3 separate regions of the Homo sapiens genome follow, and regions 2 and 3 are each linked to region 1. Evidence: promoter capture Hi-C in 16 types of primary human blood cells and fetal thymus (Javierre and others, 2016). All regions are on one chromosome and are shown on one strand. Each heading gives the region's core, a stretch centred on a gene start or on the middle of the fragment in contact. The rest is flanking DNA. Distances are from core to core; before and after follow the strand shown. Region 1 overlaps LOC101927045 (a long non-coding RNA gene). Region 2 holds the start of GZMB (granzyme B). Region 3 holds the start of GZMH (granzyme H).

Region 1 (4,528 bases), core at 616-3,115:
TTAAATGTTAATCACACAGATTCATTGCAATCCCTATAGAAATACCAGTGACATTTTTCACAGAAATAGAAAAAAATCCTAAAATTTTTATGCAACCACAAAAGACCTCAAATAGCCAAAGTAATCTTGAACAAAAAGCACAAAGCTGGAGGCTTCACACTACTAGACTTCAAAATATACTGCAAAGTTGAAGCAACCAAAATAGCATGGTACTAGCATAAACAATAGACACATAGACTGATGGAACAGAAATGAGAGCCAAGAAATTAATCCACGTAACTACAGCCAACTACTTTTTGACAAAGGCACCAAGAACTCTCATTAGTGAAAGGACAGCCTCTTCAATAAATGGTGCTGGAAAAACTTGATATCCATATGCAGAAGAATGAAACTAGACTCCCACCTCTCACCCTATATGAAAATCAACTCACAGTGGATCAAAGATCTAAATATAAGACATGAAACTACAAAACTACTAGAAGAAAACATAGTGGAAACACTTCAGGACATTGCTCTGTGAAAAGATTTTATGAATAAGACCTCAAAAGCACAGGCAACAAAAGCAAAATAAACAAGTGGGATTATATCAAACTAAAAAGCTTCTATACAGCAAAGGAAACCCTACACAAAAGGAAAAGACAACAGAGTAAAAATACAACCTACAGTATGGGGGGAAATTTTTGTAAACAATTCATCTGACAGAAGATTAATATCCAGAATATACAAGGAACTAAAAATCTCAATAGCATAAAAAAACCCACCCCAAAATGATTAAAACATGGGCAAACGATCCAAACACAGACAGTTCTGAAAAGAAGACAAACAAATGGTCAACAAATATTTAAAAGATACTCAACATTGCTAATCACCAGGGAAAGGTAAATCAAAACCACAATGAGGTATCATCTCACTGCAGTTAGAGTGGCTATTACCAAAAAGACAAAAAATAACAAATGCTGGCGAGGATGTGGAGTAAAGGGAACTCTTATATACTGTTGGTGGGAATGTGAACTAGTACAGCCACTATGGAGAAAAGTATGGAGGTTCCTCAAGAAACTACAAACAGAACTACCACATGATCTAACAATCCCACTACTGGGCATTTATCCAAAGGAAAGGAAATCAGTATATTGAAGAAACATGTGCATCCCTAAGTTTATTTCAGCACTATTCACAATAAGCCAAGATATATAATCAACCTAGGTGTCCAACAACAGATGAATGGATAAAGAAAATGTGGTATATGTACACAATGGAATAAATTCATCAAGCCACATTCAGCCATAACAAAGAATGAAATCCTTTCATTTGCAATGGCATGGATAGAACTAGAGGACATTATGTTAAGTGAAATAAGCCAGGAACAGAAAGTTAAACACCACATGTTCTCACTCATTTGGGAAGCTAAAGAAAAGTTGATCTCATAGAAGTAAAAAGTAGAACAAGAGGGTACTAGATACTAGAGAAGGGGGTGGGGAGAGGAGGAGATTTGTTAAAGGATACAAAATTAGAGCTAGATAGCAAGAATGAGTTCTAGGGTTCTATAGCACCATAGGATAACTATAGTTAACAATAATATATAGTTTCAAATAGCTAGAAGGAGGATATTGACTGTCCTCAACACGAAGAAATGATGTTTTAGATGATGGATATGCTAATTACCCTGACCTGACCACTATACATTATATGTATCAAAACATCACCATGTATGTACTCCATAAATATGTACAATTATATATCAATAACAAAATTTAAAAATGAAAATGTCATACAAATATTAATAGCATCTTAAAAAATATTTTTATAGGGACAAGCTACAGTCCATACTTTTTTTCATAATTTTATTTTATTTTTATTATACATTAAGTTCTAGGGTACATGTGCACAATGTGCAGGTTTGTTACATAGATATACATGTGCTACGTTGATTTGCTGCACCCATTAACTCGTCACTTATATTAGGTATTTCTCCTAATGCTATCCCTCCCCCTGCCCCCCACCCCACGACAGGCCCCTGTGTGTGATGTTCCCCACCCTGTGTCCAAGTGTTCTCATTGTTCGATTCCCACCTATGAGTGAGAATATGCAGTGTTTGGTTTTCTGTCCTTGTGATAGTTTGCTCAGAATGATGGTTTCCAGCTTCATCCATGTCCCTACAAAGAACATGGACTCATCCTTTTTTATGACTGTATAGTATTCCATGATGTATATGTGCCACATTTTCTTAATCCAGTCTATCATTGATTGACATTTGGGTTTGTTCCAAGTGTTTGCTATTGTGAATAGTGCTGAAATAAACATAAGTGTGCATGTGTCTTTATACTAGCATGATTTATAATCCTTTGGGTATATACCCAGTAATGGGATGGCTGGGTCAAATGGTATTTCTAGTTCTAGATCCATGAGGAATCACCACACTCCCTTCCACAATGGTTGAACTAGTTTCCACTCCCACCAAGAGTGTAAAAGCGTTCCTATTTCTCCACATCCTCTCCAGCATCTGTTGTTTCCTGACTTTTTAATGATCGCCTTTCTAACTGGTGTGAGATGGTATCTCATTGTGGTTTTGATTTGCATTTTTCTGATGACCAGTGATGATGAGCGTTTTTTCATGTGTCTGTTGGCTGCATAAATGTCTTCTTTTGAGAAGTGTCTGTTCATATCCTTTGCCCACTTTTTGATGGGGTTGTTTTTTTCTTGTAAATTTGTTTAAGTTCTTTGTAGATTCTGGATATTAGCTCTTTGTCAGATGGGTAGACTGCAAAAATTTTCTTCCATTCGCTACAGTCCATACTTTTACAGTGAGTCCTGAGGTCATTATTAACAGTCATTATCTTCCTTTAGCACCTTTTCTGCATTCCCTACCCTAACTCCCTGGCAAGCACTTCTGATGGTTTAGGTTGTTTATTCAATAAGGCAAATCGGATCTTTATCTCTAAGGTTACCGTGCCATTGTTAAGGCAGGATTTCTGCAATTGTGTGTTATAGTTATCACTGGGTAGAAGCATCAAGAAGTGTCTTGTACTGCTTTCTGGGCCACAATTACATTGTTTTGTGGCAACAACTTGATCTCTTCATGATAACCAGGGTCATTTAGTAACTTCACTGTTGCCTAGAGATCTACTGTCAAAAGAAGCTTGACATGACAGTTGGCAGCCGTAACTTTATTTTTTAGTGAAACCCTTATTGTATCCCTGGCCCTGGTGAAAGCAAATCCCCCACTCTGTGCTTGGAAATGAGGACCTTTATTAAGTGGGACCTAAAATTGTAGGGACAGAAAAGCCAAATTTACCACGTTGGTCCCTAGGAGTGCTTGCCTTATACTATGACTTGGTGGTTCTGATATGATTCAGCTCATGATGGACAGCTGTGATCACACAGTCACCCTTATGTCCCATGGTCAGATATTCAGTGTCTGCTAGGGCCCAGTAGCACCCTGGGAACTACTTTTCATATGGTAAATAGTTCTCTGCTACATATGGCATAACCTTACTATGGAACCCTAGAGGTCTGTGCTATAATTCACTTATGAGGGCTTGTCAGTCATTTCAGAGGTGCCCACCCTTATCTGTCATGGCTACCTTTAGCACCCATGGAATCTGCTGGGTCATATGATTACGGGCCAGGGCTGCTCATACAGCAGGATGAACATGCCGCAGGACTCTCTTGTTTTGGGAGATCCTCTGAAAAGCTGACAGCAGCCTTCTGAGAAAACCCATTAAATGGGCTGGAGCAGTATTCCCAAGAGTGTTATATGCTATGTGCAAAATCCAAAGAGGCCTGCCGGGCACTGTGCCTCTTTGTAGTCCATGTCGTCAATATAGCGGATCCATCTGATGATCTGTGAAATGTCCAGATGCAAAGGTCTCTTTGGACTGTGTTGAGAGAGAACCGGAGGTTTAATATAGTGCTGAGATGAGACTGCTTTCCATACTGGGTGAATGCAAACTGTTCTGATCCTTCCTCCTGACGGGAACTAAAAGAACACATTTGCCTTATCAAAAGTCACATATCAAATGCTAGAGGCTGTGTTGCTCTATTCTAATGAAGACACAACATACAAAACTGCAGTAACCGCTGCTCCACCACTTGGTAGAGTAGTCTGCTATCATCTGCTAGGGTGTATTTGGTTTTCCAGGTGACCATTTCTGTATCATTTAAATCTTTGAGGCTACCACCAAATTCTGCCATTTTACCTGGAATGTTGTATTGTTTCTGATTTGCCATCTTGGCTAGGTTGTGGACAACTAAAGCCTTTTTTACCGTAATGCCTCTTATTTTATAAGTCAGGGAATCATGAGAGTTCCATCAGCATTTAAGTGCTGCCTATACATTAAAAGTATGCACTCAGGGACCAGGGTATTTACCAAAGGGTAGGTTCAAGGACCCAACTGGCCCACTGTGGGATAGATTTAGGATAGGGCTTCCTTTATCATTTGGTGCCTTTCAAGTGCAACTCTAACAGATGGACCACAACATATTTTGGGTTCCCTAGTATTAGTGAGAGGTGACAGCGTGCTGGCAGCCC
Region 2 (4,528 bases), core at 915-3,414, 160 kb after region 1:
CACACTGCATGTCTGCCCTGGCTTCACCTGGGCCTTGTTGCTAGGTAGCCTGAGGGGCTGCACAGCTCTGGTCCGCTTGGCCTTTCTCTCCAGCTGGTGGGGAAGAGGCAAGAAAGTCCAGGTCAGCCAACGAACTTCTGGGCCCCGACACAGTGATGGGGCTGCACAATCTTCCCTCTCCTCTGAGGCATAGGAACTAACCAAGAGGCCAGGATGGAAAGGAGGGAAGGGCCGGCATTCCAGGGGGAGTGGAACCAACTGGACCAAGAAGAGCAAGAGTGGCAGGAGTGTGCCTCACCTGCAGTAGCATGATGTCGTTGGAGAAGTTCTTAGGATTATAGGCTGGATGGGGGATGGGTCTTTTCACAGGGATAAACTGCTGGGTCGGCTCCTGTTCTTTGATATTGTGGGCCCCCAAGGTGACATTTATGGAGCTGCACAGAGAGCAGAGTGAGGATGGGGGTGGAGTCACAGGGTATACAGCCCAGAGACAGTGAAGAGCAGGTGACAGCTGGGGCAGGGCTGCAGCTGAGGGGAAATTAAGGGGACAGTCGGTCCCCAGGAATTGGAATTCTGGTAATTGCACCAGGTTTCTCAGGGTTCGGTTCCCCCTAGAAACACAGGTGGAATTGCTTCAGTTTGTATTCTATGCCAAAGTATGCCCCCAGTTCTAAATATGGCAGGCTTGGTCACTCTGCTGTTTCTTACTTCAGCAGCACCTCTGGAACCAACCTTCCCCTCTCTCCACAAACTTAACTGCCCTTTTCTCACCCTCTAAGGAGACCTCCTGGCATGTGTGTTCACAGGAGCCCAGGGAGCTCCTTGGGAAGAAGGCAGGGGTCTCTGTGGAGTGTTTCCAGGAGGGTGTGGGCTGTTTTCTGCTCCTCACCTTCCCCAACAGTGAGCAGCTGTCAGCACGAAGTCGTCTCGTATCAGGAAGCCACCGCACCTCTTCAGAGACTTCTGATCCCAGATCATAAGATAAGCCATGTAGGGGCGGGAGTGGGGCTTGGCCTCATGTCCCCCGATGATCTCCCCTGAAGGAAAAGTCTGTCTGCTTGTGGGCACCCATGGAATCTGCTGGGTGGGCACCTGCTTAGTGGCTCCAGAACTCCTGGGCATTTGGGAGCCTGGGATAGCCTGGAGTTGGGAGTGGCCTGGAGGAAGGGGCTTCAATTTCCTGCTCTGAAAAAGGGAAGAACAGCAGACTTTGGTCTGTAAATCTTTCTTCCATATGTAGTTGAAGGCGAGCATACCTGTCTTAGGGACAGTGAAATCCCAGAGGCTCCTGATCATTCCTCTCCTGACTTTGCTTTGTTTCAGGTGAGTTTCCAAGACCCTTATGAGTCCTGTGGTGTCTAGGATAGTGCTGCTTTCTAATGGCCAGGGTGTAAGTGGAGGGATCTAGATACTGTCATATCCTGTTTCCTAGAGCCTGACATGTAGTGGGTGCCCAGTAAATGTTCATGGCTGCATGATGGACTGGCTCCAGTTAGCCTCTGGATGAGGGCTGGTAGAGCAGTGCTGGTGGAATTCTAGAAAGCAGGGAAGCTGGGGCCTGCCGTAGTGCCTCATCCTTGGAAAGAGGGGAGCCACCAAAGGCCAGGGAAGAAAAGCAGAGTTGGAGAATGGGACTGAGCAAACACATTAACAGTGTTCTGAGGACAGTGATTGTACCAATTCTGCTGTCAGCTGAGCTCTGGGTTTCTCTCCTAAGTAGACAGTGAGAGAAGCACCTGTCTTATCCCAGAAACAGAAGCCAGGCCTACTCTAGAATAATTTAATATTTCTCTTTTCTAGTTTCCCATCCTCTGCCATTTACTTCTAGGAAAGTCCTACTCTCCAGGTGACAAAGGTGGGCTCTGGGGAAGGGATAGTACCCACTGGCTCTTCTTGAGAATGGCCTGCTGCTCTGCCATTCCTGCTGATAGCTTATCCAGCATCACACTTGGGGGGTCTTGGTAGAATGGGAGCTGGAGTTCAGAACATTCCTGGTAGATAGATGGATCAGGAATGTGGAGAAAGGGCAGGAGACCTGTGGGATGGGGTTGGGCCCCCGAGGGTGGAGACGGTCACTCACCTGCATCTGCCCTGGGCAGCAGGAGGAAGGCCAGCAGAAGCAGGATTGGTTGCATCTTCTCAGGAAGGCTGCCCTGGTTGGAGCTGCTGTTGTTTCCTCCTTGCTCTCTTTTAGCTCTTGGGAGAGGAAAGAGGTGGAGCAGGCTCAGTGACTTCATGTTCCCCTCTGGTTTTGTGGTGTCTCATCACAGATTTTCTGTAAATGCTGCCCACCCCCACTGCCTCTGCCTGATGACGTCCTCTGGGTGCTTGTGTGAGAATCATGCAGTGACCACATCATCACCCACAGCTGATGACTCAGAGTGGACCACCTATTCAGCCCAGAGCAGGAACCCAAGCCTATGAAGTGAATTGTAGGATGTGGTATCAGCCAGTAGAGGTACTGGAGCACCAGAAACCTGAGTTCCCAGTGATAGAACCGCCAATGCCTCATGGCCATGCTGCTAAATCCATCAGGATAGTTTCTTTAGCAGGTATGTGTTTGAGCCCTTCTGTTGTGCTAGAACCAAGCATGTTGGAGATGTGTCTCCTTCACTTAGAGAGCTGACCATCTGGTTGAAGAGACGGAAATGCCAGGAGCCAGAGTACAGTTTGGGGAGGGCTATGGTAGCACAATACACAAGGCAGTAACAAAGCATGGCCACCATCTACTAGACCCATCTAGCAACCCATTTATTATCATAGCTTCCTTTCTAGAGAATTTCTAACATCCCTTATTTAGTTACAAATGTTTAGTGTGAGAGTCCACCTCTTTTCTGAATGCTTTCAATAAAAGTCCTGTACTTGACATTTTATTGGGCTAGATTAATGAATTGCTAGGAGTCAAATCCACTTTGGGTAGGCTGGGGTCAGTCTACTCAAGCCACTAGAACCAAGAATGAGAAAGGGCTGGTTCTCTAAAGGACGTTTGTGGTGCTAAATTGCTGATACCATATGAAGTGAGGAAGCATGCCAGGCAGCCAAAGATCAGTAGTTGTGTTGTTTAGTATTCTGTCTCCTGTCCAGAGAGCCACACTTCTTACATAGCAGGCTCAGCACATAACAGGCTCACAGTAAACATTTGCTAAACAAACTACACTAATGCTATCATTATAATGGATGTGAAAGATTGTTGTTTCTGAACAGCCCGTGCCCAATTCTGTTAAAAGACAACTAAGTCTCTCTACATGGTTCGATTCTTGTGATTTGTTTCCACCTTTATATTTTCTGTGAGGAAATTTTTCTATGAGGAATGGTATATCTCAAAATATAGAATTCCAGTGTAAACGTCTTCCTTGTCAATAGCAAGCCAACTACATTTATCAAACTTCTATTTTTTGAACCTAGCTTGCCCCATAGTAGACGTTTTAAAAATAATTTTTTCTGATTATAGTCATAATATATGTTTGTTAAGAAAATTTGGAAAGTAGGAAGGGAAAATATCACTTTTTAACCTGTCTCCCACAGACTGACTGTTACCATAAGCAGTGTGTTTTAAATACTTGGGATCACATTGTACATACAATGCAATTTATTTTATCCTTGATTAACCCTACAAATTAAGCATTTTCCCCATGCTCGTAGAAATCTTAGTCAATACAACTATAGTCTTTCTTTCCTAGGCATTAAAAAATTTAATATGCAAGTAATTTTTAAATAATTTTAGCAAAGCGAAAATAATAAACATTACCTAATTTCTCATCATTCACTGATAACCATCTTTAATGTCTTGAAATATGCTCTAGCACATTTTTTCTCATGTAATATCTGCATTTTTTAAAATTAAAAGGGGATTATGCTAAACATAAGTTTATGACCCATTTAAAAAATTGAGGTAAAATTCACATAACATACAATTAACCATTTTAAAGTATTCAATTCAGTGACATTTAGCACATTCAAAATCTGCAACCACCACCTCTGGATATTTCATATAAACGGAATCACACAATACATGACCTGTTGTGGCTGGCTACATTCACTTGTAATAATGTTTCTGAGATTCATACAAGCTGTAGCACATGCCAGTATTCGTTCTTTTTAATGGAAAAATAATATTCCCATTGTATGTTTATACCACAAGTTATTTGTTCATCTGTCAATGGACATTTGGGTTGTTTTCATCTTTTGGCTATTGTAGCTAATGCAGCAATAATAAGCATTTGTGTACAAATTTCTGCATGAACAATATGTTTTCAGTTCTTTTGGATATATACCAAATATATATACTTTTGGAATTTCTGAGTTATACAATAATCCTATTTTTAATTTTTTAAGGAACCACCAAACTGTTTTCCACAGTGGTTGTACCCTTTTGCATTGCTTATCAGCAACATAGGAAAGTTCCTATTTCTCTGCATCCTTGCTGACACTTGTTATTTTAAAATTATTATCTTCATCCTAATGGGTGTAAAGTAGTATGTCATATGGTTTTGATTCACATTTCCTTTATGAGTAATGATGTTGAGCA
Region 3 (4,528 bases), core at 1,314-3,813, 140 kb after region 1:
TTTCTGGGTAGAGGCTGGAAACCCAACCTTGAAACCGGTCTGTGTCTTCTTTGGATCCCCCACACAAATCTCAGTGGCTCTGCTGTAATTGCCATGGAAGAGACGTTCACACTGGCAGTCCTTCTGCACTGTCAGCAACACTTCCTGCAGTGTGGTTGCTAAAGTGCTCATTGAGACATAACCCCAGCCAGCCACACTGCACAGCTGCCCTGGCTTCACCTGGGCCTTGCTGCTAGGTAGCCTGAGAGGCCGCACAGCTGTGGTCCACTTGGCCTTTCTCTCCAGCTGGTGGGGAAGAAGCAAGAAAGTCCAGGTCAGGCAATGGCCTTCTGGGCCCCGACACAGTGATGGGGCTGCACAATCTTCCCTCTCCTCTAAGGCACAGGAACTGACCAAGAGGTCAGGATGGAAAGGAGGAAAGGGCCGGCATCCCAGTGGGAGTGGAACCAACTGGACCAAGAAGAGCAAGAGTGGCAGGAGTGTGCCTCACCTGCAGTAGCATGATGTCGTTGGAGAAGTTCTTAGGATTATAGGCTGGATGGGGGATGGGTCTTTTCACAGGGATAAACTGCTGGGTCCGCTCCTGTTCCTTGATATTGTGGGCCCCCAAGGTGACATTTATGGAGCTGCACAGAGAGCAGAGTGAGGATGGGGGTGGAGTCACAGGGGATAGAGCCCAGGAGCAGTGAAGAGCAGATGACAGCTGTGGCAGGGTAGGGCTGCAGCTGAGGGGAAGTTGAAGGGACAGGAGGGCTCCAGGGCTGAGTGACTGTGCCCTCTACTTCACAAAGACATGAAGAGTAGGGCTTCTGGGGGCTCTCTCTTGCCTTCAGGAAATATCATGAAATTGCTCGAGTTTGCATTTTGATCCTTAATGCATGGATTCAACCTTTACTACTGCCTTATTGGGCCAGTGTGTGAAACCATGCCACTTGCTCTGACCTCTGACCCTCTGACCCTCTGACCCTGTCCTATTTCTCAGCCTTTCATCATCTTAGTCCTATTCCCAGGTGGCTGCTCCGATGAGCTTTCATGGGCTTGTGTTACCAGGAACTCTGGAAGCTCCCCTGGGCTGCAGTCCCCAGGAGAAAACAAGGGTCCCTGTAGGGGGAACTCAGGAGGTGAGCTGGTGCTGCTCCTTACCTTCCCTGGCAGTGAGCAGCTGTCAGCACAAAGTCCTTTCTCACTAGGATGCCGCCACACCTCTTCCGACTCTTCTCTTGCAGAAACTGAACAAAGGCCATGTAGGGGCGGGAGTGGGGCTTGGCCTCATGGCCCCCGATGATCTCCTCTGAAAGGAAAGACTGGAAGATAAAGTAGCTGGGGATGGCTGCAGTCAGGAGAGAAGGCTTAGGACGACAGTGATTGAGGGTGAAGTGTTTTGTGTGCTGCAGACAGTGAGGGAGGGGTCCTCCTGAGCTCTGCAGGCAGTACTCCTTGCAGGCAGAGCAAGCTTTTCTGAACTTTAAGTCTCAGAACCTTCTCTCAGAAAGAATGGACAGTGCTTGACTTCTGCATCCTACTGCAGAAACACACATGGAGGAAGAAAGATCTATTTTCACAGTGGTAGAGCCCCAGAGGATCCTGGACAGGACTTCCCAGGCTCCTCCTTTTTAGTGAGTCTCTCTGATTCCTCTGAGCCTCTGCTGTCCTCCTGATTGGTGCCATTTTCTAATGATCTACCCATGAGCTTCTGGAGTTGGATTTTCTAAAATTCTCATGTGCCAGGGCTGAACACATTCTAGGTTCTCAGTAAGTGTTGTTTGGTGCATAAATGAATAGCCTCCAATTAGCCTTTGGCTGAGGTTTAGTGGGGGTAGTGCTGGTGGGATTCAGGACCTCAGGGATGTTAGAGGGGGTTATCACCAGGTCAGTGGAGTAGCTGAGGGCCTGCAAAGGCAGAAGGAAGTGGAGAAATCAACTAAAAATGAATCGCAAAGCCCAGGTGGAGCCAAGGTAATGGGAGAGCTATGGACACAGTCATCTTGCCATCTCTGAGATCAGTTGCACCATGGGCTTCCCTCCTGGCAGGGGTGACTGGGTGGGGGCACTGAATAAGTGGTTCTTAAGCTGAGTCCAGTAACAACTCCTATGACTGCAACTTGGTGTCTGAGCTCCTCTTTCCTGGGTTGGAGTGTAGAGTAATAATTACTTATCTTTTTTAGCTTCACATTCCCTACCAAATGCCTTTCTAAGAACAATCCACACTCCAGGTCATAAAGGAGAGGTCTAGGGAGAGGCTAACACCCATTAAACCTTTTAGGGAACACCCTTCATTTTTCGATCTTTGCTGAGTGTCTATCTAGCCTCAGATTTATAAGTCTGGGTGTGGAATGGGAGGTGGGCTCAGATTGAGGAAAATTCCTGACCAGTGCTCATGGGTACAGGGTATCTTATAAGATGGGTTCAGGCCTCTGGAATAGGGATAGTCACTTACCTGTCCCAGCCCCAGGGGTCAGAAGAAAGGCCAACAGGAGGAGGAATGGCTGCATTTTCTCAGGAAGGCTGCCCAGGTCAGAGCTGTTGGTGTTGACTCCTTCCAGAAACAAATGCTGGAGGGAGATGAAGGAGGGATGGGTACAGTAAACTCAGAGACCTCCTAGACTTGTCCCCTTCTGGTTTTGATGGGTGTCATTATAGAAGGTGGTTTATTAAAATTATCTGGTTTGGTTTAAGTTGACATGGCACTGTCACATTTACACCCCTGCTGCTGAGTAACAAGGTGAAAGCAAGAATAAAGAACAAGGAGGTGGAGCTGTTGAAGCTGTGGCTGCAGCTAGCAGAAAGGCTGGTACTGCAGAAGCTCCTCAGTGACTGAGAACCAAGAATGTCTCCTTTTCTCAGTTCTTGGCTCTTTTTCTACTCAGATAAAATCATGAATAATTATTTAGCAAGCCAGATCCAGGGATATGAGAGACATGGCTCTTGCCCTTGAAGAATTGATGGTTAGCAAGAGTAGACTGAAAATCTGGGGTTAGAGCACAAGATGGTAAGGGCCGTGGTGGGGAAATCTGCCTGTTGGTGTGAGACGGAGGCTGGACTTGCCTTAGCAGTATGCAGAGTTGCACACACCCAACAAATACTGCAAATGGCAACCCATTCCTATCTTACCACTATCTCAGATTCATATTTTTGGGATATTTAGAATCCCCTCTTTAAATATAAATATTCTGTGACAAAGATAACTTTTTTTATTCCACAGTTCTGCACAAAAGTTCTGGACTTGATATTTATTGAACCAAAATGAGTCATCATTGGGTCCACTGAAGTGTAGTGGACTGATTGCTTTATGCTTTGGTTATTTAGCCCTCCTTAAGCTGAGGTGGGGACTGTTCCACTCCATCTATGGTGCTTATGAATGAGGAGGGGATTTCCCTTGAGAAATGCTAGTTGTTGTTGCCAGGTGATGGAAAAATGGATGCTGATCATCCTGATAATAATTGTTCACTAAGGCCGGGCGCGGTGGCTCATGCCTGTAATCCTAGCACTTTGGGAGGCCAAGACGGGTGGATCACGAGGTCAGGAGATCGAGACCATCCTGGTTAACATGGTGAAACCCCATCTCTACTAAAAATACAAAAAATTAGCCGGGCGTGGTGGCGGGCTCCTGTAGTTCCAGCTACTTGGGAGGCGGAGGCAGGAGAATGGCGTCAACCCAGGTGGAGCTTGCAGTGAGCTGAGATCGCGCCACTGCACTCCAGCCTGGGTGACAGAGCGAGACTCCATCTCAAAAACAAACAAACAAACAAACAAAAAACTGTCCACTAAGTATTCTCTCAGTTTCCAGAGAGCCATGTCTCTGATGTCCCTTGGCTCACAGTCATAGGCTGTCCATAAACAAAAATGTGTATATATACATATGTTTGTATATTTATGTATATGAATATATATAAATATATATGTATAGTTAAGTAGGAACATGTAAATGATAAAATTAAACTTACCAAAAATTCTACCACCGGAGATCATTATTAATGCTTAAGCATGTTTCCTTCTACTATTTTTCTAGGTATTTATAAGGTGCTATTCCTGCTATTACTTTAACAGAACTGGGATAGGACTTTAGGTGATAGACTTTTTTGTGATGAATTTTCCAGGTGTTCTTTGAGCTTCTTGTATTTGGATGTCTAGGTATCTAGCAAGGACAGGGGAGTTTTCTTCAATTATTTCCTCAAATAAGGTTTTCAAGCTTTTAGATTTCTCTTCTTCCTCAGGAACACCAATTATTCTTAGGTTTGACTGTTTAACATAATCCCACATTTCTTGGAGGCTTTGTTCATTTTTTAAAAATTATTTTTTCTTAGTCTTTGTTTGATTGGGTTAATTTGAAAGCATTGTCTTTGCGCTCTGAAGTTTTTTCTTCCGCTTGTTCTAGTCTAGTGTTGAAACTTTCCAGTGGATTTTGTATTTCTCTAAGCATGGCTTTCATTTCCAGAAGTTGTGATTATTTTTTCTTTATGATATCTATTTCTCTGGGGAATTTTTCACCCATATCCTATATTTATGTATATATATATTTTTTAATTTT

The links. Contacts are between HindIII fragments. The CHiCAGO score rates a contact against its expected background, and 5 or more counts as called.
Region 2: a contact is called between the fragment with the promoter of GZMB here and a fragment that was not itself captured in region 1, in 3 of 17 cell types (M0 macrophages, M1 macrophages and M2 macrophages). The highest score is 7.9, in M0 macrophages.
Region 3: a contact is called between the fragment with the promoter of GZMH here and a fragment that was not itself captured in region 1, in 1 of 17 cell types (M2 macrophages). The highest score is 5.3, in M2 macrophages.

What each region holds. Positions count from the first base shown.
Region 1 is chr14:24,468,466-24,472,993 of GRCh38, forward strand. The region is part of intron 2 of LOC101927045 (a long non-coding RNA gene); the gene reads left to right. Among named protein-coding and RNA genes, the nearest start is that of SDR39U1, 28 kb to the left of the region's middle. The HindIII fragment of the contact is 2,537 bases long and covers 598-3,134 here.
Region 2 is chr14:24,632,026-24,636,553 of GRCh38, forward strand. GZMB (granzyme B) reads right to left here and starts at 2,165. Exons shown (of 5, transcript NM_004131.6): 1 at 2,081-2,165; 2 at 890-1,037; 3 at 299-434; 4 at 1-93. The coding sequence starts at 2,135. GZMH-AS1 (GZMH and GMZB antisense RNA 1) reads left to right here and starts at 1,077. Exons shown (of 3, transcript XR_007064087.1): 1 at 1,077-1,323; 2 at 2,271-4,528. RefSeq lists an enhancer at 1,544-2,743. The HindIII fragment of the contact is 9,884 bases long and covers 1-4,528 here.
Region 3 is chr14:24,607,122-24,611,649 of GRCh38, forward strand. GZMH (granzyme H) reads right to left here and starts at 2,564. Exons shown (of 5, transcript NM_033423.5): 1 at 2,438-2,564; 2 at 1,144-1,291; 3 at 491-626; 4 at 28-285. The coding sequence starts at 2,492. The HindIII fragment of the contact is 2,736 bases long and covers 1,452-4,187 here.